2 separate regions of the Homo sapiens genome follow, and region 2 is linked to region 1. Evidence: promoter capture Hi-C in 16 types of primary human blood cells and fetal thymus (Javierre and others, 2016). All regions are on one chromosome and are shown on one strand. Each heading gives the region's core, a stretch centred on a gene start or on the middle of the fragment in contact. The rest is flanking DNA. Distances are from core to core; before and after follow the strand shown. Region 1 holds the start of MFSD2B (MFSD2 lysolipid transporter B, sphingolipid). Region 2 overlaps ITSN2 (intersectin 2).

Evidence for each region. Contacts are between HindIII fragments. The CHiCAGO score rates a contact against its expected background, and 5 or more counts as called.
Region 2: a fragment that was not itself captured here is called in contact with the fragment with the promoter of MFSD2B in region 1 in 1 of 17 cell types (erythroblasts); the score reaches 6.1 in erythroblasts.

What each region holds. Positions count from the first base shown.
Region 1 is chr2:24,007,717-24,014,042 of GRCh38, reverse strand. MFSD2B (MFSD2 lysolipid transporter B, sphingolipid) reads right to left here and starts at 3,958. Exons shown (of 14, transcript NM_001346880.2): 1 at 3,851-3,958; 2 at 633-758. The coding sequence starts at 3,946. The HindIII fragment of the contact is 4,987 bases long and covers 2,334-6,326 here.
Region 2 is chr2:24,340,837-24,347,162 of GRCh38, reverse strand. The region is part of intron 1 of ITSN2 (intersectin 2); the gene reads left to right. Among named protein-coding and RNA genes, the nearest start is that of ITSN2, 17 kb to the left of the region's middle. The HindIII fragment of the contact is 1,896 bases long and covers 1,420-3,315 here.

The DNA.
Region 1 (6,326 bases), core at 2,709-5,208:
AGACTCCATCTCAAAAAAAAAAACAAACAACAAATTAGCCGAGTGTGGTGGTGTGCACCTGTGATCCCAGCTACTCGGGAGGCTGAGGCATGAGAATCGCTTGAACCTGGGAGGCAGAGGTTGCAGTGAGCCCCAAGATCACACCACTGCACTCCAGCCTGGGCAACAGAGTGAGACTCTGTCTCAAAAAAAAAAAAAAAAAAAGAATCGTCTTGGGCCACATATAAACACATAAAATACACTAACACTAATGATAGCTAATGAGCTAAAAAAAAAAAAAAACAAAAAAATTCATACTGTTTTAAGAAAGTTTACAAATTTGTGTGGGGCCGCATTCAAAGCCGTCCCGCCGCGGGTTGGACAGGCTTGGTCTATTATGTGGCTATGATACAGCTTACTTAGCCAACTGCTTCTATATTGTCGGGGATCTACATTGTTTCTCATTTTCCCACTACAAACAGGCTGCAGTAAACATTCTTGAGTACCTTGCCCTCATTGGCTTCTGGCTTTTTGTTGAGCTCGTGTCAGAAGTGCTGTCTACAAGGATAGTGGGAGCAGAAGCAGAGGTGGGGGTGGAAGGACCAGACCCCAAGGAAGATGCCAGCAGAGACTGGGCTACTGCCCACACTTACCTGTGCTATATCAAGCAGGAAAAGCTGCAGGTAAAAGGCTGTGGCGCTGGAGGCTATCTGGTTGGGGACCCCACCAATGCCATAGCACACCTTTGTACAGAATGAGAGGCGACCGGCTCTGCTGTCCTGGAGGAGACACAGGAACTAAGCCCTTCTCCCAACAGACACAAAACAGGTCCCCACACCCCATGACTTCAGTAAACATCCTGAGTCTCTGTGATGTCTTCAGGGCTTTTCCAGCAACCTCTCAGCCCCATTTTGCCCCCATGTCATCCTAAGAGGAAGTGAGACGAAGAGAAAAAAGATCCTAAACCCTGACCTCTAAACATTTCCAGGGGGGAAGTTCTTCTGGACATCTTACCCTGGGCTTCCTGCTGAAGCCGCCATCATTTACTGAGTCAGCACGGCCGTGTAAGCTGCAGGTCAGGAGACCTGGGCTTGAGCCTGCCTTTGTCACCTACCCCTCTATGTGACCTTGAATAAATCACATCATCTCTCTAAGCCTGTTTTCCTCATCTGTCAAATGCAACATCCCTGCCAACTTCACAAAGTTGTTTCTTCGATGAGTAAATGAGGCGATAGCTCATTTACCCATAGCCTGCCTACCCACAGCCCTCCAGGGATGCCTGGCAGGCGTCTCAGCTTAGCATGGTCTACATACAGCTCCTGATGGCCATTCCATTGTCTAATCCAGCTCCTAGCAAATGGCACCGCTGGTCCCCTCAGTGGCTCAGGCCACAAACTTAGGAGTCATCTATTCTTCTTTCCAGTTCTTGTCTATCAGTGAATGCCTCCTAAGTGGCTTCTGTGTCTGCCCTTGCTCCCTACAATCCACTCCACCCAGCAGCCAGTGCTCTTGTAATAACATAAATCGCACAGTGGCTCATCCCTATAAACCCAGCACTTTGGGAGGCCGAGGTAGGTGGATTGCTTGAGCCCAGGAGTTGAAGACCAGCCTGCCCAACATGGCAAAACCCCATCTCTACTAGAAACACAAAAATTAGCCAGGCATAGTGGCCGCCTGTAATCCCAGCTACTCAGGAGGCTGAGGCAAGAGAATTGCTTGAACCAGGGAGGCAGAGGTTGCAGTGAGCAAATATCACACCACTGCACTCCAGCCTGGGTGACAGAGACTCAGTCATAAATAAATAAATAAATAATCAGATCCCATCTCCTCTCTGATTAAAACTCTCCAATGGCTTGCTATTGCAGGGTTTTTTTGTCTGTTTTTGTGTGTGTGTGTGTGTGTGTGTGTGTGTTTTGTTTGTTTGTTTGTTTGTTTCCAGATCCATGGTATTCAGTCAATACCATTGCAGTTTGAATAAAACTCCAAGTCCTGATCATGGCTAAGGAGTCCACCCAGTCGGCCCCCTACCCACCTCACCTCAAATAGCTCTCCTTCAGCCACGCCGGGCTCCTTCCTATTCCTCAAAATCATCAAGTCTGTTGCTGCCTCAGGGCCTTTGCCCTTCCCATTCCTCTGCCTGGAAGGTGACTCCTTGTCATTCTGGTTTGATGTCACCAGCTTAAATGTCACCTCCTCCAAGAGGCATTCCCTAACCTCTCACCTCTCTCAGTTGTACTTACCGCCTGCTATATTTTCATTTAGTTCCTGCCTCTCCCTACAGGAATGTAAGCTCTCTGAGAGCATGAACTCCACCTTTTATTTATCATGGTGTTTCCAGTACCTAGAACAAAGCTTGGTATACAGTAGGTGCTTAGTATATATCCGTTGAAGCAATAAATGGCCATGAAGACCCTGTGTAAAGTGCTGTTTCTTTGGAAGAAGCTGGGCTCTTTTCTCATCGTTTGCTGGGGGCTGGAGGGAGTGGAGATGACATGGCTTCACCCATTTCCACATCTTGCAGGACACCCCAGCAGGCTCTTGTGAAGGGAAGGTCTCCCCAGATAAGGGTTTATCACACTTTGCACACTCTTCCTACCCACAGGGGAAAACCACACTGGGGGCAGGATGATTCTTTTCTGACATTTGTGTGAACATCATTTCAGCTTCCAGAAAACTTTAAGAACAGGCAGAATTCAACGTGACAGTCCCCCTCTCCCCCTAATGGGGACTCTTGTATCCCCCAAAACAGGCCTAGCAAGTTTTTAGAACTTTAGAAAGAACTTCCAAGTGAAGCCAGGGATATGATCCCATCTTGCCGTCTTGAGGATGACAGTTTTACCGAAAGTCATAAAAGCCCGGTACAGCTGTACAGTGAGCTGTACAAGGAGAAGCCCCTTGGGAGGGGCGGCTCCGGGCGAGGGGCGCAGCCCTGCTATCTCTAGCTGCGTGACCCAGGGCAGGGCACCTCGGTCTCCTTGGAGTGACCGGGGCTGCCACCCCTCGGAGAGTCGTAAGAGGATTCCACGCCGGAACTTCATCAGCAATGCGAGTGTTTCCCTCTTGCTGTTAATCTCACCCTGAATTTCTAAGTTTCCCTGGGAAGTGAGAGTCCCCGGAGAGCCCCTTCATCTCACCTCACTTTCTTGTGGGATGCAATCCTGTGCTCCCAGGTGCCTCGTAGGAAGCCCTGAACAGGCTGGGGGCTGAGGTGGTCAGGGGAGGCCACAGAATGCCCTGGGCACGAGCAGGGAGCAGGCGCGTTCAGTGAGGCCCAGGAAGCCCCAGGCCCCTTGCTCCGTCCAGCACAGCCCCACTGGCCAGCACGGCCCGGCGGCATCGGGCAAGGGACAAGGGGCCCCGAAGACCCCGCCGCTCCCACCTGCCCTCCTCCCTTCTTGTCGGAGCCCATGGCCAGGACCTTCCCTGAGGCTGCCTCCAAGGGGAGCCTGGTGCCTGGGCGAGGCCAGGGTCTGGGAGGGAGGCCGAGGCCACAGCAGCTGCCTGAGGTCGGGAAGGACGCAGCCTCCCCAGGCGCTTCAGAAAGCCCTGCCTGCCCAGAGCTCGGGGACCCCGGGAGGACCTGCGGTGGCACGGACAAGACCCCTAAGCCGGGAATCAGGACAGCAATGACCACGCATCCCCAAGTTACTTCCTTGGCTAGGGCTAGGCTTCCCGTCCTAGTCTCTTTCCGGCGCCGGCACCTACCAGCCTCCCCGCTCCCAGCCGTGTAACCCCGCGAGGGCAGCCCCTGAGCTGGCAGGTTTGGGCCGAGCCCCTCCGGGCTGCCCCCAGCTGGAAAAGGGGCTGCGAGGCGACGCCCTGGAGCTCCCCGAGGACGCAGCCCCTTCCCGGTCCCCGCCGCCCCGCTCACCTCTCGCCCTCGCTTGGCGCTCCCCGGGCCGGGCTCTGGGGCGTGCGGCTCCGGCTGCGGGGACCCCTTGGCGGCTGGTGCAGGGGGCGCCGCCATTGCCACCGCAGCGCCGCCCGCGGCCGTTGCCCTCGGGGTTATCGCCCTTGGGAGGGGCGGTTCTGGGCTAGGGGCGCGGCGCGAGTGGCTGCTGGCAACGCGGGGGAAACGCAGAAACCGCGAAGGGCACCCCAAAGGGAAACAGCGAAGAACCAAAATCCGCGGGGGGAAAGGCCCGGCAGGCCCTCAGGACCGTTCTCCTTGGGGTGGATCCCCGGGGGCGTGAGCGCCCGCAGACGGCGGCCCTGCGCGCTAAGGGCTCCGCCAGACCGCTGGGGTGACCGCGGGCAAGCAGCAGCTCCCCTGCAAAATGAAGCAAGAGGCCCGCTCGTTCAGGCTGGACCATGGCTGAACAGGCATTCCGCCGGCTACACATGATGCCCAACGCCTGAAATATACATTGTCGAGTCTCCTATACAGACCACGGGGATGGCCAGTAACTAAGTTCTGGCCAGCGAATAAAAGCAGGTGGCACAGGCCAACATTCCAGAAAAGTCCTTAAAAGGGAAGGGGGGTGACAGCAGGTAGCTAGTCAGCCTCGAAAAGGGCAGGAGAGGGCCACGCTTCCAACCAGGTACGTCAGGCAACCATCAGGCGACAGTCAGGCGGTTGTTATGCTCCCTCTAAAATGATCATTGATCCAGCGGGGCCAGGGAAAGGCAGTCTCCCAATAGATAGAGAAAACCTGAAACTGGTGATCAGCTTCTCGGTAAGATCTCAGGAGCTGGGCAAGTGGGCTTACACAAATTGCGGAGTTTAACTGACATGTGACCCTCGAAGGACACCGGACTGGTAAGGGAAGAACGCCTCCAGTGAGCATGGGTACAACTCCAGTATACACAGTGTGCACACTCCCCTCCCAAGTGCTGGCAGACCACTGCCCATGCAGGCAGGCCTCCCAAGGGAAGAATCAGGGGAGAAGGGATGCAAGACCCCAGAAGTATGCCAATGCATAAGACCCCAGGTCAAAAGGTCAAACTGTGCGCTTCTTTTTCAGGTCACCCGCTTGGCCCTCTTCCAAGTGTACTTTCCTTCCTTCCATTTCTGCTGTAGAGCTTTTTAATAAACTTTTATTCCTGCTCTAAAACTTGCCTCAGTCTCTCCTTCTGCCTTATGCCCCTCAGTGGAATTCTTTCTTCTGAGGAGGCAGGAACTGAGGTTGCTGCAGACCCATATAGATTCACTCCTGCTGACATATTTTGGTGCCACGTGACTCAGATACCTTCCACCAGTAACAGGGGTACACATTAACTAAAAATGCATCATAGACCTAGAATGTAAAACTTATGAAAAAACAGGAGCAAGGGACAGGCACGGTGGCTCATGCCTGTAATCCCAGCTACTCGGCAGGCTGAGGCAGGAGAATCGCTTGAACCCGGGAGGCGGAGATTGCAGTGAGCCAAGATCGTGCCACTGCATTCCAGCCTGGGTGACAGAGGGAGACTCTGTCTCAAAAACAAAAACAAAAACAAAACCAACCAAACACAAAAAACCCAGAAGCAACTCTTCATCATATTGGGCCAGGCAATTGTTTCTTAGGACGCCAAAAGCACAAGCTGGATGAACTACAAAAGTTTTCAAAATGAAAACCTTTGTGCTGTAAACGATTCCAACAAGTGGGTATAAAGACAACCCACAGAATGGGAGAAAAGGGATTTGTATTGGAATCAACTTTCACAACTCAACAATTAAAAGACAATCCAATTCTAAAATGGGCAAAGAATTTGGATATTTCTCTAAAGATATACAAATGAACAGTAAGCACATGGAAATACAAATCGAAACTACAGTGAGACACCATTTCATATCCACAGGGTGGCTGTAATTAAAATGAGACAAGTATTGGGGAGGATGTGGAGAAATCAGAACCCCTATACACTGCTAGTGGGAATGGAAACTAGTGACAGTCCTTTGGAAAAGTTTGGCAGTTTCTCAAAGTAAAACGTGGAATTACCACATGACCCGCAATTCCACTCTTAGGTGTATACACCCTACAGAAATGAAAACATGTTCACATAAAATCTTGAACATGAATGTTCATTAGCAGCATTCATATATATATACATATATATATAATGTGTGTGTGTATATATATATGCCAAAGAGGACACAAGCCAATGTCCATCAGGTTATGAATGAATAAATATAATGTGGTATATCCATACAATGGACTACTGTTGGGCAAGAAAAAGGAATGAAGGACCAATGCATGCTACAACACAGATGAACCTTGATGACAGTATGCTAAGTAAAAGAAGCCAGTCACAAGACTACAAATTGTATTATTCCATTTATGTCAAATGTCTAGAATAGGCAAATAGAGAGTGACAGAATGTACATTTGTAGTTGCTTGGGACTGGGCTAGGGAGTTACTGCTAAG
Region 2 (6,326 bases), core at 1,118-3,617, 330 kb before region 1:
TGCTGGTTGCGGTGGCTCACGCCTGTAATCCTAGCACTTTGGGAGGCTGAGGTCGGCAGATCACAAGGTCAGGAGTTCAAGACCAGCCTGGCCAATATGGTGAAACCCTGTCTCTACTAGTACAAAAAAAATTAGCTGGGCGTGGTGGCGGGTGCCTGTAGTAGCAGCTACTCGGGAGGCTGAGGTAGGAGAATCACTTGAAACCGGGAGGTGGAGGTCGCAGTGAGCCGAGATCATGCCACTGCACTCCAGCCTAGGTGACAGAGCGAGACTCCATCTCAAAAAAAAAAAAAAAAAAAAAAGATAAATTTCCATGTGGATCAAGTGGGTATTTTGTTTTTAATGAATGTGGTCAAAATTAGAGGCACATATTTACCTATACTCTTCTACTTCTGAGGTATTTGCTTTTTATAAAATTGATAGGCTTATTTTTTAAACAGTTTTAAATTTACAGAAAAATGGAGCGAGTAGAACAGAGTTCCCATATATCCCTTCATGTACCCCACACATAGTTTCCACTATTATTAATATCTTATATCAGTATGGTACATATGTTAGGAATAATGAACAATACTGATTGTATTATGATTAACTGAAGTCTATGCATTATTTCAGTTTCCTTAGTTTTTATTTAATATCCTTGTTCTGTTCCAGGTCACCACATTACATTTAGCTGTCATGTCTCCTTAGGCTCCTCTTAGTTGTGACAGTTCCTTAGACTTTCCTTGTTTTTGATGACTTTGACAGTTTTGAGAGGTTACTGGACAGATATTGTAGGAGATATATAAATATATTGTAAGTATATTGGAATTTGATGATTTGTCATGCTTGGACTAAGTTAGTGAATTTTTAGGAGGAAGATGACAAAGGCAAAATGATACTTTCATCTTATCAAGAGCACATACTGTCTGCATGCTTTATGACTGTTGATGTTGACCTTGACCAGCTGGCTAAAGTAGTGTTTGTCAAGTTTTTCCTCTCTACAGTTAATCCCCCACCCTCCTTTCTGTGCTATACTCTACGTAGCCTTCTGCCTTTCCATCTTTGTGGGCTGGGATACAGTCTTAGAGGTCATAGAGATAAGAAGGGTAGACACTGCTAGACATCGCAAGTGGTGGTGGTAGAAGGGTAGCGCAAACAATTTGGACTCATATCCATTTCTTCACTCCAAAATAAAATCCACGTAGATCAAATATATACATAAAACCCTTAAATCATAGAGGTACTAGAATAAAATATAGGACAATTTTCTGGTATAAGACCTGGTATGAGACAGGCCTTTCTTTGTATGACAAGACACTCACTAGTCATAAAAGAAAGACCAACAAATTTAAATTGGTATAATGAAAGATGCCCTAAAATTAAAAGACAAACAAGCTAGATTAAAAGCATTTATAGCATATGTTACAGGTAAAAGCTTACTATTAATATAATATCTATTATTGTAATGCATAGAAAAAGATCCGTGGATACAGGTCATGTTGTTAACAGCACTGGGTATTTTCAGAGACTGATGGGGAAGGATGGTCAAAAGAATTGGCTTTATTTGTATGTTTTAAGTTTTTACAATGAGAGTATTAATGTATTATGTGTCTATTAAAAAATAAATTTTGATCTACCCATCCTGTTGAATATTATGTAGAATCGAATGTGGTATTTCTGATGGGTATTATCTTAGAAGAAGGTTTAGACAATGTAAAATACATATGGGTATATATACGTTTATATAATATGTAAAAATAGGCTGTGAGAATGTACTTCAGTGGCTGATATGGTTATCTTGGAGATGGTACTGTGAGTGAGGTAATAAAGAATGACTGTCATGTTTTGCTCTTCATAATTGTACATTATTTGAAGCCTTTGCTTTTAAATTATTTGTACAGTAAAAATAAAAACATAGGGGAAAAAAGGCTGAAATGGGGGAAATCTGAGCTCTCACATATAAAGATCCTATAGAACCACACTATCCCATACAGTAGCCTTTAATATGTGGTTAATCAGCACTTGAAATGTGGCTAGTTCTATATTGAGAAGTACTCTAAGTGTATAATAAGTGTAAAAGCTGGAGTTTGAAGACAGTACAAAAATGTAAAATGTCATAAGAATTTTTATACTGATCATATGTTGAGGTGATAATATTTAGATATGAACTAATTAAAATATATTAATACAGATTTTACCCGTTTATTTTTACTTTTTATTTATTTTTTTGAAATGTAGTCTCACTCTATTATCCAGGCTGGAATGCACTGGCGCAATCTGGGCTCACTGCAACCTCTGCCTCTCAGATTCAAGCGATTGTCCTGCCTTAGCTTCCTGCGTAGCTGAGATTACAGGTGCCCGCCACCACGCCCAGCTAATTTTTATATTTTTAGTAGAGATGGAGTTTTACCATGTTGGACAGGCTGGTCTTGAACTCCTGACCTCAGGTGATCCACCTGCCTCAGCTTCCCAAAGTGCTGGGATTACAGGCGTGAGCCACTGCACCTGGCCTAATTTTACTTTTTAAAATGTGGCTACTAGAACATTTAAAATTACATTATGTAGTTTGTGTTGCATTTCCATTGAACAGCATGCTATAGAAAATGGGCAAAATAAATGAATAGGCAATTCATAGGAGAAATATACATGATAGATATATGAAAAATGCTGAGTTCCCTAATGATCAGAGAAATGAAAATTTAGAAAAAATTTGCCTCTCAGGTTGGCAATACATAAAATAATTGTTCATACCAAATATTGGCAAGATTATACAGAAACAAGTATGTTTACACACCAATGGGAATATAAAATGGTACTATTAATAAATTTTGGAAAGCAACTTGATACCCATTAATTCTACTTCTAGAAGTATTGTCCTACCTAAATACTCAGTATATATATGAGGATGAGGATGTTCAAAGTAGTATGGTTTGTTAGGCAAAAAACTGGAAACCGTCTTAATGTCCACCAGTGGAAGATAGCTTAATTTCTGGTATATCCATATAATAAAATGCTGTACACCTATTTAAAAGGATATGATTGATGTATTATATATTGCTATGGAAGGATATCTGTAATATGTGTAATGAAAATAATAGAATATTAATTGGCTAGCATAATTTTATTTGGGTTTGAAAAATAACATGTTTGTTTATATATGCATAAAATAAATCTGGAAAAACAAATACCAAACTGTTAACTGTGGTAATCAGGACTGGGTCTTCAGGTTCACCCCTCCTCCCCTGTCTGTGGAGTCCGCTTAGTAAGTTTTTCATGTTTGAGATTTTTGTGGAGCATGTGCTTATAAATTACATTTATTTGGAGAGGAAAGCTTAGTTAAGGGAAATAATGTTTGTGGAAAATTGCTTAGAGGAAATGGAGTATATTACTGGTATAGGTACTCTAAAATGTCTTTTGAATTAAGTCAGAGTTAGAGGGTTGTGTCTCTAAACCGCATCTTATTGGTATTATGCTATCAGCCTGTATTGAGAGACTTTATAGGTAAAGTCCAATTTAGGCTGTTTGGTATTATCTATTAAAATTAGAATGTTCATGCTCTCTAACCTGCTACTTCCACTTCTAGAATTTATCTTTGGAAGCACATATCTGTCCACAGACCTATATTTACACACATGTATGAAGAATGTTTATTGTAGCATTAATTGTAACATTTGTTAAAATGAACATGAAGGGAAACATTCTAGGCAGTGGTTACAGTACAAGCAAAAGCAGAGTAACTAGTGTGGTCTGGAAAAATAGAAGATTACTTATTCACTGTGAAAAATTGGTAACATGAAAAAAGCAGAACAATGAAGTATGACTTCATTTGTGTAAAAGTGGTATTTGCTAGTGTATAAATAGGAAATATCTGGAACAATCTATTCAAAACTGCTAATGATTGTTTTCTTGGTAATGGACTTTCACTTTCTATTATATATATATTTTTTAATGTTTAATTTTTCAGGTTGTTTTAAGGATCTTATGCTAATTGACATTTGTATCAGCTAGGCATTAACATTGTACTTATTTTTGTATCTATTGTTATGGTTCCTTGCATTGTTGTTAGCCTTTCACTTTTTTTTTTTTTTTTGAGATGGGGTCTCACTCTGTTACTCAGGCTGGAGTACAGTGGCACGATCTTGACTCACTGCAACCCCCATCTTACAGACTCAAGCAGTCCTCCCTCCTCAGCCTCCTGAGTACTTGGGACCACAGGCACATGCCACCTCGCCTGGCTGATTTTTTTTATTTTTGGTAGAGAGGGGTTTCACTGTGTTGCCCAGGCTGGTCTTGAACTCCTGAGCTCAAGGTGATCCACTTGCCTCGGCCTCCCAAGTGCTAGGATTACAGGCATGAGCCACTGTGCCAGGCCAGCCCTTCACTATTTCATGTGAGTAAGTAATCTTCTATTTTTCCAGACCACACTAGTTACTCTGCTTTTGCAGAGTAACCTCTGCCTAGAATGTTTTCCTTCACATTCATTCATTTTAACAAATGTTTTGATGTGTAGGGCCTAAGCTGATTTGAATGCAAGCTGAAATGCACATATCTGGTTGAGTCATGGGAACTGATTTGCATGTGTCTTTCTCTTTTATGGCTTGAAGAGGAGAGAAATTTGTGCTTAGACACTTGAGGGCCTACGAGATCAAGGAGTCTGTCCTTAGCTCTGCCCTTTGGACTGTTGTCTGAGCCTAAAGAAGAGAGACAAAGAAAGCTTGCATTGGGAGGCTGAGGTGGGAGGATCACTTGAGCTTAGGAGTTTGAGACCAGCCTGGGCAACATAGGGAGACTGCACCTCTATAAGAAATTTTAAAAATTAGCCGGGCTTGGCAGCGTGCTCTTGTGGTCCCAGCCGCTTGAAAAGCTGAGGTGGGAGAATCACGTGAGCCTGGGAGGTCGAGGCTGCAGTGCACCGTGATTATGCCACTGCACTCCAGCCTTGGCAACATTGACTGTCTCAAAAAGATTATATATCTCTAAAAGAAAAAAAAATGGTAGAAGAAAATCTGTACCTTCTCAATCGCTCTTTCTTCTGCTTCTAAACTTATGTATGCCTTTGTTCATTCTTACTCCCCTTCCTGAACTTCATTCTTAGAGACAGAAATATCTGTCCCAGGTTCTAACTTCGTGTTCTAGAGCTGTCTACTACTTCTTTTTCTGGCCCTAACTTCCATTAGGTAACTTCTCTCCCATCTCCTTTTTGTAAATTAAATCTTTATTTCTTTTTTTTGTCTAAAAATAGTTTTGTTCTGTCACCTAAAAACTAAAGCCTTATAATAACTCTGCCTCCCTTTCTTAAATCTTACCTTTTTTCCTATGTATTTTTTGAGAGGAAATCTTGCTCTGTCGCCCAGGCTGGAGGGCAGTGGTGCGATCTTGGCTCCCTGCAACCTCCACCTCCCAGGTTCAAGCTATTCTCCCGCCTCACAGGCACTCACCACCATGCCCGGCGCATTTTTGTATTTTTAATAGAGACAGGGTTTCACCATGTTGACCGTGAGACCGGTCTCCTGACTTCATGTCATCTGCCTGCCTCAGCCTCCCAAAGTGCTTGGATTATAGGTGTGAGGCACCACACCCAGGCTCTTCCCCTTATTTTAAACATTTATTGCCTAATCTACTTCAATTTGGCTTCTATAGCCATCACTGTGCTAGAACTACACTCACTCCAGATTGCCAACACTAATAGCTGAGTCTTAACTTCTGTGACAATACCATTTTCTCCTTGAAACTCTTAACTCTGTATCCCGATTTCTCGTGTTTCTGAACCTCTGTTTCTGACTATTCTTGTCTCTTTTTTCTTATACATGATTTCCCTGGATAATGTCATTCACCCACATGATTACAACTACTCCCAATCCCTAATGACTACGAAATCTGGGTTTCTAGATAGAGTGTTCACTATATCTTGGACACTTCCATCTAGATGTCTTTGTAGGTGGATCAGATTAGGTGTGCTCAAAATTGAACATTTTGTTGTTCATCCCTCAAATCTAATATCTAGATTCCTACTTTCTTAGAGCTTCTATCTTGGTTAATATTACTGCTCTACAGTCACCCAAGATAGAAACCCATCTGTGATGCTCCTCTTTCATCTTCCACATTTAGCTGACCAGAAAATCCTGTCTATTCTACCTTTGAAATACCTCTTCTCCATTGCTCAAGTTCAAGTTCTCACCACCTGGACTATGCCAGTCACTTCATAATTGGTGTGTTTGTCTCAAGACTCAAAATCCAGTTTGTTCCTATACTGCTTGTCAGAGTTGTCTTCCTCTCCTCTTAAAAGACCAGTCTTCTTATATATTTTTTTATATGTACTTTCCCTGGATAATGTAATTCACTGA